Linked DNA regions of Homo sapiens: regions 1, 2, 4 and 5 are each linked to region 3. The links are contacts of gene promoters, found by promoter capture Hi-C in blood cells and fetal thymus (Javierre and others, 2016). All regions are on one chromosome and are shown on one strand. Each heading gives the region's core, a stretch centred on a gene start or on the middle of the fragment in contact. The rest is flanking DNA. Distances are from core to core; before and after follow the strand shown. Region 1 has its middle 51 kb from the start of LINC01967. Region 2 overlaps CMC1 (C-X9-C motif containing 1). Region 3 holds the start of NEK10 (NIMA related kinase 10). Region 4 overlaps CMC1 (C-X9-C motif containing 1). Region 5 has its middle 20 kb from the start of CMC1.

Region 1 (2,700 bases), core at 110-2,609, 610 kb before region 3:
AGAAAGAGAATAGAACCCACACAAATAGGCCAAAATTATTTTTTTCCCCAAAAGCACAAGACCAATTTAATGGGGAAGATTAGCTTTTTCAGCAAGTGATGCTGGAGTAGTTGGACATCTATAGACAAAAAAAATGAACCTTTACTTAAACCTCACACCTCATAAAAATTAACTCAAGATACATAATGGACTTACATATGAAACTGTAAAACTTTTAGGACTAAAACAGAAGAAAATCTTTGGAATCTAGGACTAGGCAGAGTTCTTAGGCAGAGTTCTTAGACTTAATACCAAAAGCATACTCCAAGAAGGGAAGAAATAAATTGGACCTCATAAAAATTAAAAACTTTTGCTCAGCAAAAGACTCTATTAAGAGAATGAAAAGAAAAGCTACAGTTTGGGAGAATATATTTGCCAGCCATATATCTGACAAAGGCTAGTATCTCTAACACAAATTGCTCTCAAAATTCAGCAGCAAAAATGAAAACAATTCAACTAGTACATGGGAAAAAGACATGAAGACACATTTCACCAAAGAAGATATACAGGTGGCAAATAAGCATATGAAAAGAAGCTCAGCATCATTAGCGATTAGGGAAATGCAAATTAAAACCACAATGAGATATCACTACACACCTATCAGAATGGCTAAAATAAAAAATAGTGACAATGCCAAATGGTGGTAGGATGTGGAGAAAGAAACTGAATGACTCATGTACTGCTGGAGGGGATGTAAAATTGTTCAGCCACTCCAGAAAATAGTTTGGTGGTTTTGTTAAAAAAAAAAAAAAAAAAAGAAAAGAAAAAAAAAACCATTGAACATGTAACTACCATACAACCCAGCAACTGCACACGTAGACAATTTTCCAGATAAATGAACACTGGTGTTCACATAAAAACCTGTACACGAATATAGCAGCTTTATTTATGGTAGCCCCAAATTAGAAACAATACAGGTGTCCTTCCGTGGTAGAATGGTTGAAGAAACTGTAATATGTGCATACTTATAGAGTACTAGTCAGCAGTAAATAAGAATGAACTATCAATTCACGCAACCATCTAGATGAAAATCTAGAGAATTGTGCAGAGTGGGGGAAAGAAGCCAATCTCAAAAAGTTACATTTCCATTTATAAATGATAAAATTATAGAAATGGAGAACAGGTTAGTGGTTGCTAGGGGTTAAGCGAGAAATGGGGCTCTTAGGAAAGTGGGTATGACTATAAAAGGATAATTTAAAAGACTCTTGTGGTGATGGAATTATTCTGTATCTTGACTGCATCAATGTCAACATCCTAGTTGTGATATTGTTCCATAGCTTTGCAAGTTGTTACCACTGGGGAAAACTTAGAAAAGGCTCCACAGGGTCTCATTGTACGATGTCTTATAATTGCATATGAATCTACAATTAACTCAACAATTTTTTAAAAAGCTAAAATGATTTTTTGTAACTCAGAATTCATAATACTTCTACTTGAAAACATTTTGTTCAAGTCAGGTGAAGTCTCCAAATTGCTGGTTTTTACTTCATTGTTATCCAATATCATCAGCAAATCTCACATCTCACTGATTTCTCACTTTACAGCTCAGTTTGCTACAAATAATGCAATTCACCTAGTAGACTTACAATAGCACTCCACATTGTCTCGTCCTATCTTCCTATTTGCTATTCTCCACCATTGTTTTACTCAGGTGAGCATCACACCATGGCTAGTTACCTACCAACCTGCCAACTCTCGAGTTCCTTTTAGTTAGTGTCCTACTTTGTTTTTTAATTCTAAGTATTTTCTTGCAGCGCAATTGCTGAGGGGGAAACCACTACAGTGTAGTGAACTCCTACTATGTGTCTAAGTCCTAACCGTGAGGTGATGGTGACTATCAAATTGGTGCCAGAATAATAGAGATAAAAGAAAAAGAATTAAATGGTATTGTCCTGATGAGATACCATCTCCATCCACGAAAGTCAGGTGTATGGTCGGGCCTTTTGGAGGGTTTGGGAGAAGGACCTGGTATAACTTGTTGATGCTGGAGCAGCCAGACCCAACCAAATATTAAAAGATAGGCCTAAAGCAAGGTGTTTCATATAAATATACCCACAAACCTTCTGAGTAGATCCTAACATTATCCCCATTTTACAGCTAGATTGGGAAATTTAGGCTTATTACTGATATATTGTGCAAGATCTAGTAAGTCAGGAACCAGCATGCTGACTCATATCCACGTGATTTTGAAACGTGATTGACTTCCCCATTTGCTACAATGGGTGAGCACTGTAAAGGAACTAGAGTTTTCTCTCTGTAGTCTTAGTCACTGTGTTATGAAGAGATGGACATCATAGTAATACTTATTTCTGATGCAATTAAATGCCTCTAGTTCTTAAAAGGAAGACAAGGAAAATGCTATTCTTATAATCTTCCTCCATGAAAATATTCCTTTAAAGCCTGCATCCTCGCTTTTTGCCCCTTTCCCATAGGGACTCATCTTCTCTTACCTCCTCCAGTAATGAGCTATTTCCACAAATCTTCATGGTTGTTTGCTAATGCAGCAGTACTGTCACAATAGTTAACTTATACAGTGGGCCACCAGCAGTCTCTGCCACAACATCAAACAAAAGTCCAGTTTTTGACAAGAACCCAGTACTGTCTGCCACCATGAGGTAACTAAAGATTGACAGCCCAGGTTTCTCAGCTGAAAGTGTTGAA
Region 2 (2,700 bases), core at 169-2,668, 930 kb before region 3:
TTAAATAGGCTACATCATATTTCCAAGATTAGTGTGGCATACATAGATTGGTTTAGAACCAGGTCTTTTAACTTCAGAAACGTTATCTGTAATTACTATTGGATCTCACTTATTCCTTTCCAGAACACATGAAAAACTCCTACGCTTGGCAGAAATTTCCATGCCCACGCAATAGAGACTTAACCCAGGCCAGGTATCTCACACATGAGGTCACAAATGAGACCTGGGAAGCAAGTGGCAATGGTTCATCACATTGTATCACTACCACAGGAAAGAATAAGGTAGACACTGTTGCTGGTTTTTTGCTAAATGACCACTTAGCAACCATATAAAATCAAATAGCATCAGATACCTCAACTCTCCGATTCCATACTGTTTTCCAGTATTCCTATAAAATATATTTAAATATTTAAAATAAGGATTTTACACATTAGAAAGGGGCTTCTTCAAACAAAATATAATGAAGTGCTAAATTTCATGTTTCAGATATTAAGTGCTACCAGAATTTGAAAGAGAGACATTCACACAGCCTGGTGTGGACAATGAAAGCACCAAATCCCTCTATCTTTTTTAAAAGATCACATAGAAGATTCCCTAAGTCTCCCCAAACACACTTTTCTTACATATTCCCTCTTTGCTGTCCCACATAGTCTCCAATGTTAAAAGGCCAATTCATTGATAGGTATTGATAAAAGCAACTGACAAAAAACAAAACAAAACAAAACAGGCAAACTTTTGAACATGGAGCCTTCTAGGATTTCTTGCCACTAGTAGATGCTTTGCCTTCTCTCATCACTTACACAATGGAGAAACGAAAGTAGGATCCGTGTTTTTAGTGACACAAGTAATAAACGAACCTGTTGGACTTTTTCATACTTGCAAGTGGTCTACAGCCCATTCTGGCAATAAGTATGAGCCAACAGTGACCATTAAATACTACTTATCGAGGGCCCTGGACAGGACCAGCTGTCTTGTTCTAGACTTCTGGAATCAAAAAGGTTAGAGTGTGAAGGCCTTTAGAGGTCACTTAATCTATTTCACAAAGTGTTTCCTACTCCATCTTACTGTTTAAACATTTGTGGTGACAGAAAATTCCTTAACTCGCAAGGTAGCCAGTTCCATAGTGTGTGTGTGTTGATGGGGGTTGGTGTGTGTTGATGGGGGATGGGAGTACTATAGGCTGAAAAAAGGTAGTCTAATGCTGCCGTTTCATCATACACTATAGGAAATAACATTCATATTTTTTTCTCTTCTCCTGGCTCAGCGCCAGTTTAAACATTGCTGCCTCCTCAAGGTATGTGATTTCCAGACTATTAACAAATCCTTGTCACCCACTTTATAGTACGCTCATTTGTCAAATTTATTTATTTAACAACTGGCTTAAAAAACATTAGCATCTCCTATTTTTTTAAAAAAAAAAAACAGCATCCATAAGGACAGTAAATTCTCCAAATTCGATCGCAGTAGAATTTTTCATGCAATTCAGATATAGACTACATATATGTCTTTCTTAACAAAAATAAATCAGTAAGCCGAGTGCAGTGGCTCACGCCTGTAATCCCAACACTTTGGGAGGCTGAGGCAGGAGGATCGCTTGAATCCAGGAATTCAAGGCCAGCCTCAGGAATATAGTGAGGCCCCGCCCCTACAAATAATTTTAAAAATTAGTTGGGTATGGTGGCACACGCATGTAGTACTGTTTACTTGGGAGGCTGAGGTGGGAGGATCGCTTGAGCCCAGAAGGTCAAGGCTGCAGTGAGCTGTGATCATGCCACTGCACTCCAGCCTAGGTAACAGAGCATGGCCTTGTCTCCAAAATAGTAAATAAATAGGTTCCCATCTGTAAGGAATCATGAAAAGAATAACATATTATTAGCCATTCCTCATCTTGTCTTCTCTCACCTGAAGCAAAAAGTATTTTTATATGAATGTGGCTTTTGGTGATGTCATCAAATCTATCACAGTAACATCAACTGCTTAAATGTTAACACTGTATCACGAAATACTATGTAGCCACTAAAAAAAATAGCACACTGATAGGGAATGACCCCTAAGACTTAAAAGTGAAAACAGCAAGGTACAGAACGTTATCATTTCTGTGTTTGGGGGGTGTGCATGTGTACACGTCGGGGGGGTATGTCTGCAAGTACATAATGGCTATGAAAGAATATGTAAGAAAACTGATAACTGTGGTTATTTCATAGGAGGAAAACTGGCAGGGACAAGAATTGAAAAAAACACATTTGTATTGTGGTTTGGTACTCTCTACATCTTACAGAATATTATGAAAAAAAAAGGAAGGAAGGAAGGAAGGCAGGGAGAGAGGGAGGAAGGAGGGAGGGTGAGAGGGAGGGAAAGGGAGGGAAAGGGAGGGAAAGGGAGGGAAAGGGAGGGAAAGGGATGGAGGGAGGGAAAGGGATGGAGGGAGGGAGGGAGGGAGGAAGGAAGGAAGGAAGAGAGATAGAAATCATTTTGGGTGCTGGAGAGGGGAGAGTGGGGTCTATATAAGAGAAGCCTCGGCTTTGAAGAGCAGAGTGAAAAAGCCAGCTCCCTCTCTCTCATTTTTTCCTAAGCAGGCCATTCTGCCCTAAATTGCTGTTTAGTAACAACTAGGTGGGGAACCCTACTGTATCTCGTGAGAATTCCCTGTTCATCGCACTCTAGGAATGTTTCTGCAATTATGGCTTAATTTTATTAAAT
Region 3 (2,700 bases), core at 87-2,586:
ATTACAGGTGTGAGCCACCAAGCCAGGCCGACTGCTTAACATTTAGAATGTATGTACAGAATACTTTTTCTACTCAGCATCGGTCTTCCTGCCCCGTCACCTTGTTTTGTTTTATTGGTAACATTAATCCTGATTGTTTTAGATCTCTGAAGTTTAATTAGTTCTGCTATACTCACCAGAGTTTGGCTTTCATCTCGCCTTTCTGCATTTCCAAAATAGGACCGTCTTCATTTTAAAAAATGCTTTCAATTACCCAAGCTTAAGTATTGTTAATCCAATGGGCCTACTTACTATCCACACCAGAAAAACGTTAGGGTTCACTGTATTCATTTAAAATCCAGTTTGGGAAGATGTAACCACCAGACACACACACGAGCGTTTAGTGATACCAAGATGAGGTTGAACAGGGCCCAGTACTCGAAGAAATCGTCGAAGGAGCATCATCGTGGTTAAGACCAGACTCGAAGTAGGTTTTACCCTGACTCCATCACTAGCTCTGCCATACTGGACTACTTAGGAAACTTCTTGTGCCTCCATTTTATAACTAAGTGAAATAAGGAAAGAATTTGAAATCGTGCCCGGCACAAAATTAAGCACTTAATAGATTGGCATTTTTCATTTATTTAAAGTTACAGAATGTCAGGTATATTTTTAAAGCGTTATCTAATGCAGTTCAGAAATTTTAAAGAAGCTCCAGACTTTCACAAAAGGTGAAGTGACTTGCCCAAAGCCACAAAACGAACTGGCGATAGTTATACTATACAGGTTTCTTGAATCCCAGGTCACTCTTTTTGTGAAAAATACGGTGCTGTGGCACCTTATTCTCATTGCCTGTGGCTTGAGTAACTGAAGACGTTTTCATGCCATATGAAAGGTATTTAGCATGCTGCATTGATTCCTTATCAGATTAAATCTTTGCTTTTAAAGAGAATTGATTTTTAGCCCATAGCAATTCTTGAAAGTAAACACTCCAAGATGAAGCTGCCCTTTCCCATCAAAGGTTAGACACCCTAAATCCAGAAAAATCTTCAACGTGTAGGAGACCTGTTCACAGGTAGCTCTAGGTTCCGGTGAAGTGGCTGCAGCACAGCCTTCAGCATCACTTGCTGCCTCTTCTGCTTGCAAGCTTGGTGGTGGATCTAGCGCGTCTCTGGTTGCTACGGCGATTCCCCGGCAGGCGTCATCCGTCGCTATGGCGTTCTGCACTGCGCAGCATGGCTGCTCCCGATTGGCTGAGGCGCCCCAGGTGGCGGAGGAAGAATTGTCGGCATTGGCCTGGCCAGCGCTGGTTGGTGGCCTGGAGGAGGATTTGATTGGAAAACCAACGGTGCAGCTGGCCGCGGTGTCCCTGAGGTTGAGGGGACCGGGAATAGGCTGGGGGGAGGACGGGACGGGCTGAGACTGGACGGGACCCCCGGTCTGCAGCAGCAGGTGACAGCAGCAGGGACAATGATAAGGAGATTGGCCTGAAGGAGGGACCGTCCCTCCCGCGCGGTGAGTAGGCGGGAGCCGGTGCTCGGCTGTGCCGGCGAGCAGCTTGAGTCAGGGTCTCCGGGGAGACGTCCTCAGGTCCCTGTGGAGCGGCCCCGAAGCCTCGGGAGCCAGCTTCACTAGACAAGAGGCAGAGGTAGAGAATGCGGCTGTGGTGGGTAAGTGAGTCACTGCGTGAGGCAGTCTTTTCAAAGCAGGTGGGTTTGTGTTGGACGGATGGATGGTGGGAAAGCGCCATCAACGATGCTTCTTGGCGCTTCCATTTTGATAACGGAATTATTCTGGTTAAATGGAGCCTGAATGTGTCTCTTCCAATCTGCTCCGACGCCTCTGGAGGTTCATTCTTCATCTCTATGAGCGTCGCTTTTCTGCCTTCTCCTTACAGGATGCTGCTTTGACTTTGCCCCTCTGCTTTTCTGCCCTACTTCGGTGAGCCCTTCCACTTCCTCGCCTCAGGCACCATCTATCTGACGATGATTAGAAAGTCTCCAACTGGAACCTAGCCTGCTCTACTAACTGTCAGACCCCAAAATCCAGCTGCCAAGTTAACGCCACACATGTGCAACCCTGAACGCCATCTTCCCCATGTCTGCTGCTGCTCTTGGATTCCCTATTTTGGGCATCACTATCCATTCAGCTTTCAAAAACTACACTCTAGACGACATCCATGACACTTACTGCTGCTTCCTCTGCATCTCTATCAATTATCAAGACTATCCCTTCTTAATAGGTGTTGAATCAATTCCCACATTACCATCTCTATTTTTACTGTCTCAATTTCCACCATCGGTTGGTTAAATTCAACACCCATCTGGCTTCTCCGATTCTAGTCTGGCCCTATCTATCCAATCCACTTTTTTCCCCACCATTGTTGAACTGATATATATATATGTGTATATATATATATATGGAGTCCTTCTAAAAAAGACTCCTTTTTTAGAAGGAGTCTTGCTGTGCTGCCAGGCTGGAGTGCAGTGGAGCGATCTCAGCTCACTGCAGCCTCCGCCTTCCGGGTTCAACCAATTCTCATGCCTCAGCCTCCAGAGAGCTGGGATTACAGGCGCGAGCCACTACGCCTGGCTAATTTTTGTATTTTTAGTAGAGAAGGGGTTTCACCATGTTGGTCAGGCTGGTCTCGAACTCCTGATCTCAGGTGATCCACCCGCCTCAGCCTCCCAAAGTGCTGGAATTACAGGCGTGAGCCACCGT
Region 4 (2,700 bases), core at 146-2,645, 900 kb before region 3:
CAAATTCACTGTAGAATTAGAATCATGTAATTCCAGATTAAAATTAAATTTTAGAAGTATAAGGGTATATAATGATGAAACATTCTAAATGTTATCTATTGCTTAAGACAAATTTTAACTGTATTTAAACATTAGGTGAAATATGCAACTCAGACTAATTCAGTGTACATTAAGTAAAAACCAATGGTGTATAGATAAAGAGGGTATCATGTAAGCTGGTTAAAAAATTAAAATGAAGACAGAACTAGTAAGAATATAGCAACCTGGCTGAAATTGATATTCATTAGGGTACTCCTCACATCAATAGGTAACATTTGGACTCTGTGGGCTTTATCAGTGTCCCAGCTGGTAATGGTTGAAGGTTAATGCCTTACCCAATTCTGTTCAATTTTCTATCCTAATTAGCCCTGCAAATCTATAGCTGTGAGCACCAAGTGTCTGTGCTCAAAAGAAACTAATTAATGCTAGCAAATTAGATCAAGTCCAAAGATCCAACAGCCAAACTCTTAGTTAAATGCTCCTTGTTAATAGGAAGTGTAGCTGTCAATAACTGCTGTTGGTGACTATAATGAGGCATCTTTCTTTCATTGAAAGTGATTTCATTTCTCTTTGTCCATGGAAAAGCTGTTCCATTCCCTTCACAAACCTAAGTTGCTGGCAGTCTGACCCAATTCTTATGATCAGCTGGGTTGAAATGACATTAAAAAAAAAATCTAACGGAAAAGCTTTCCTACATAATCATGTTTTAGGCATTTAGCAGAAAGTCAGATCACTTATTAAAATTCCTGTATCTTTTATCTAAGAACCATACAATTGGCATATATAATGCTTTTATATAAAATCCTATAATTATTTAATAAAGCAAAAGCTATAAACAGTAAATAAACTACAATGGAAATGTCCCGATTCTAAATTATGTATAACTGTTGAGTTTAAATGAAGTTTTCTTCTGCTGCTTGAATAATTCTAATGTATATGATTTCCTAATTTATATGGTTAGAAAATACTAAAGACTTCTTATTCTCTTATCAATTTTAGATTCTAAAATATTGTTTTGAATCACATGGCCTAAAAAATCAATACATAATTATCTATAAGATATTCAAATTATATTATTACATTCTAATATAGATGAATACATTTAAATAATCCAAATGAGTCACAGATTTTAAGATGCTTTCAGTCTTCAGAAACCGTAAGTATATTAAAACAGCAAAAACTTAACTACGTCAACATCCTAAACAACTTAACTTTTGATGAAGTGAAAATTAAACACTTTATTTTCTGTACCATTATAAAACACTAGTTTTGTAACACAAATAAATATTTTAAAGTTATACTCTACGCTTTCATTTCAAAAACCAAAAATAAAACTCAAAGTCATACAATCATTCTGCATTTTCCTTGGAATTATGTCAGTAAAAATTAAATCTGTAATTGAGTTAGCTAGCTTTCTTTCATTCTAGGTATAAAGACAATATGCTACATGACAGCACACATACAACTTATATGTGTAACTTTAGACTGATATATCAGTAATAAGTAAATTTTCCTAGCAGTAAAAAGCCCTACAACTTTATTATAGGGTTTTTAAGTTTTATCTCCCCTCACCTGAATCAGGATATATATTTTTTAAGTTGTATGAGGAATGTGCAGGATGTACCTCTTGTGACCATAAACATGACACCTACCAATGCCATACATGCACTACCTGCAGGTGTCAATAGGTTGACGTCTCAAGACATCTGGGGGTAGGTGTTAAAGAAAGGTACTCTGATTAAACTAACTCACAAGAATCAAGAGTAAAACCATTGGATGGTTATTTATATGAGTTTTAAAATGGAATAGGTCATAATAAGTTATTGAAGAAACAAAAATTACCATCACACATTGTTGATTCCAAAGAACTACTCTTTATTTTATTGCCTCCATTCATCAATTGCAAAGGTCCTCTCTAAGGGCAGAGGACAGGGAAGGGAACAAAAGCGTTCCTAGTATCCAAATGTTATTGACCCAGTCCTGAAATTAGAGTTGACACAGCCCTGCTCCCCTGTAGTGAAGCTTGCAGTGGAAGTGCAGCCCATCATCCTCACTAAAAATTATTGTGGTCCCTCAATAAAGATGACCACAGGGAAAGTGAAGAAGTAAAGCCAGGAAAATAGCCTATGCCCATAAAAGTTTATTACTTCTTTTTGATGGCCCTTCCAAGAGACAGAATTTTTTAAAGATATTTCTAAAGTAATATTGCCATGTGCTTTTCTAATAACTCATCATTTACAAATGTATTATGGCCTCACTATTCACCTTTCACTGCTTTCTTTACATGTTTCACTAGAATATTACATATTAATCACTGATGTCTCTAGATCTATAGGAGTATTTCATGTTAAAACATTTTCCAAAGAAAACATACACTTGTAGCTGTCTAGTGTATGTATTTACATAAATATCTTCCACTTAGAAACATAAAACAAAACAAAAACCCCAGACTCACTGTAAGTCCTATCAGGATTCTATTAACAATTCAGTAATAGACAATGACACCAAAGAAAATCACCTTAGAATATATATATGTATGCGAATATGGTGACAGATGGGAAACAGGTATATGTTAGATTTGATGTTTCTTCCTCCCCTATAAAAATCGTAAGAGTAACTTGTTTCTCCAAATTACTCATACCAAGTTTTTCCATGTATATA
Region 5 (2,700 bases), core at 180-2,679, 850 kb before region 3:
AATTGTAAAAAGCATCATAGGAAGTAAGCATCTGCAACAGAGTGAACCCTCTGGATATTTTCCCCCTCCTGGGTAAGGAGAAAGAATACCAATACCAACGAGAGAATTCCCCTTCACCTGTGTTTTCAGCTGTCTTGTTGGTCTGATTTCAAGGAGAAAAGAGTGGAAAATAATTGATTCATTTTCTAAAGATTTTACAGCTTCAGTGAAAGGAACATATAACAAAGGTAAGTTTCTGTTTTACATTTTGATTCAGATTGTGGAGAAACAATTTCATTATTTTTCCTAAGAAATTACTGAATACTGTAAACACACTAACTTTTTACTTGACCAAGGTTCCTGCTGTCAGTCATCAACATCTTTAGTCATCTATACATTCCTCCTATTTATTACAATAAGAATAACAAAATAAATATGTTGTAGCTTATACTATAAATAATACATTGACCAGCCATCATTAATACATGGCGATACCCTCTCTTCTGTTTGCTACTAATTTTTGCAAAATACATTTATCCAATGTCCTGAACCTAAAATCTGCCTCCATTTATTATGATTAATTCTACTGTCTCAAATGTGCATTTGCTGCTCTAGTTCTGTATTTTTCACCATGAAATTACGTTACTGTACTATCTAAATATAATAATTCTCAAGAGCCTATCTTCATGTCAACCTGCTATGCTTTTTAAAGCATCAGGAAATGACCTGGAAAACTAAACCACAGCACAAATGCTAAGATATTTTCTTAAACAGATGACAGAAAATACCCTAATGTGAAATGTGGGAATATATATAGATATATATACACACACACACATAGAGAGAGAGAGTACAAGCATGTGCCTGACTTTGACTAATTTTAGAATCATGAATAAGACATCTTCAAATGAAAGAGTAAAACTAATTGTCATATGAGTTTAGCTGAAGCTTTTTTAGTATACTTCTCAGATATTGGCCAAGTAAAGAACTCTAATGACTGGTAAAACTCACAAGTTACAGGATGTCCAATGGTTTGCTTTTCATAAGATTAAAGGAGGACCTAATTAAGTTGCTAACTCATAAATCATTGTAAAGTAATTTTAAATAACTTATCATGTGATTTTTGGTATGTTACTTGGAAAACATTTAAATAAATAGCTGTCATTGCTATAATAAAATTCTTTCTTGGCCCATATAGGTATTTATGGGATCAATGCTTCTCAAAAATTATATGTATAAGGTCAAACATAGGCATAGAATTTATTCTGAATCCTAATTCTAGAAATAAGTAATGTTTATCCATAGGCACATAAACTAATTTAAAAAAGATATTTATCTCATTAAGAGGTGGTTTTCATGTAATATTTTACTTATATTTAGTAAGCATTTTTCTAAATATATATTTGTTGTTTTCATTAATTATATTGAATGATATGAATAATAGTAAATCAATCTGTAAGAAATTATTTAATACTTAGAGCCTTATGGACACAGGAAATGAAAACTTCAGCATATATATATATATATATATATATATATATATATATATATATGCTTTTGCTGCAGTAACAGAATAATCAATAAAAGACTAAAAATTATTCTGTTAAGATAAAATCTGTGGAGGAAGTATAATAGAAATATAAGTTTGAGAAAAAAACCATAAAATCACTAACTCTTAGAGAAGAACTTGTGAACTTGTTCAGGTATTTTTAAAGAGGCCAATGGCAGGCATTAAATGACTTTTGAGGACACAACTGTGTCCTCTTTTGAATGTATCCAAATAAATGTTCTTTATATTTTCTGTATCACTGTTTACATTGTATCAGATATTCTAGCCTTTGAAATTATTTAAATTTACAGTAAAATAAGTTTTACTTAAACATTACATATAATTAAACATTACATATAATTTTGAAAATTTCTATTGGGGGGTTTGTAGGCAAAAAAGCTTAAAGACCACCGTTTAAAAAATCTTTTATTTTAATTTTTTTCATTTTAAATTTTTTTTTCTTTTTTTATTATACTTTAAGTTTTAGGGTACATGTGCACAACGTGCAGGTTAGTTACATATGTATACATGTGCCATGTTGGTGTGCTGCACCCATTAACTCGTCATTTAACATTAGGTATATCTCCTAATGCTATCCCTCCCCCTCCCCCCACCCCACAACAGGCCCCGGTGTGTGATGTTCCCCTTCCTGTGTCCATATGTTCTCATTGTTCAATTCCCACCTATGAGTGAGAACATGCGGTGTTTGGTTTTTTGTCCTTGCGATAGTTTGCTGAGAATGACGGTTTCCAGCTTCATCCACTTCCCTACAAAGGACATGAACTCATCATTTTTTATGGCTGCATAGTATTCCATGGTGTATATGTGCCACATTTTCCAGTCTATCATTGTTGGACATTTGGCTTGGTTAGGAGAATGAACAGAAAGGGGCAAGATGTAAGCAACAAGACATGCTAGTAGGATGTTGTGATATATGAAGCAAGACAGGTATTGCCCAGACTGGGGCAGGCCAGTGAGGATGAATGGAAGGGGACAAATCCAAGAAATGTTTGGGAGGTAGAATTAATAGAACATGGTGAGAGATTAGGTGTGTGGGTGCATGAGCGGGAAGTGTAAAGGGCGACACCTAGGTATCCACCCAGGTGGCTGAATGAATAGCTCTTCAGTCACCAAGAGCAGAAAGCCTAGTGTAGGTGTAGGCTTGGGAGCAG

Evidence for each region. The method cuts DNA at HindIII sites, captures the fragments that hold promoters and counts their contacts. A CHiCAGO score of 5 or more calls a contact.
Region 1: a fragment that was not itself captured here is called in contact with the fragment with the promoter of NEK10 in region 3 in 1 of 17 cell types (monocytes); the score reaches 5.1 in monocytes.
Region 2: a contact is called between a fragment that was not itself captured here and the fragment with the promoter of NEK10 in region 3, in 16 of 17 cell types (M0 macrophages, M1 macrophages, total CD4 T cells and 13 more). The highest score is 14.3, in M0 macrophages.
Region 4: a contact is called between a fragment that was not itself captured here and the fragment with the promoter of NEK10 in region 3, in 13 of 17 cell types (M2 macrophages, total B cells, M0 macrophages and 10 more). The highest score is 13.2, in M2 macrophages.
Region 5: a fragment that was not itself captured here is called in contact with the fragment with the promoter of NEK10 in region 3 in 1 of 17 cell types (monocytes); the score reaches 5.3 in monocytes.

The regions. Positions count from the first base shown.
Region 1 is chr3:27,976,655-27,979,354 of GRCh38, reverse strand. No RefSeq gene overlaps it. Among named protein-coding and RNA genes, the nearest start is that of LINC01967, 51 kb to the left of the region's middle. The HindIII fragment of the contact is 3,089 bases long and covers 1-2,700 here.
Region 2 is chr3:28,300,351-28,303,050 of GRCh38, reverse strand. The region is part of intron 2 of CMC1 (C-X9-C motif containing 1); the gene reads right to left. Among named protein-coding and RNA genes, the nearest start is that of ZCWPW2, 47 kb to the left of the region's middle. The HindIII fragment of the contact is 4,399 bases long and covers 1-2,700 here.
Region 3 is chr3:27,368,019-27,370,718 of GRCh38, reverse strand. NEK10 (NIMA related kinase 10) reads left to right here and starts at 1,336. Exons shown (of 36, transcript NM_001394966.1): 1 at 1,336-1,494. RefSeq lists an enhancer at 1,578-2,078. The HindIII fragment of the contact is 2,054 bases long and covers 1,129-2,700 here.
Region 4 is chr3:28,263,629-28,266,328 of GRCh38, reverse strand. The region is part of intron 2 of CMC1 (C-X9-C motif containing 1); the gene reads right to left. Among named protein-coding and RNA genes, the nearest start is that of CMC1, 23 kb to the right of the region's middle. The HindIII fragment of the contact is 1,336 bases long and covers 728-2,063 here.
Region 5 is chr3:28,220,656-28,223,355 of GRCh38, reverse strand. No RefSeq gene overlaps it. Among named protein-coding and RNA genes, the nearest start is that of CMC1, 20 kb to the left of the region's middle. The HindIII fragment of the contact is 1,000 bases long and covers 930-1,929 here.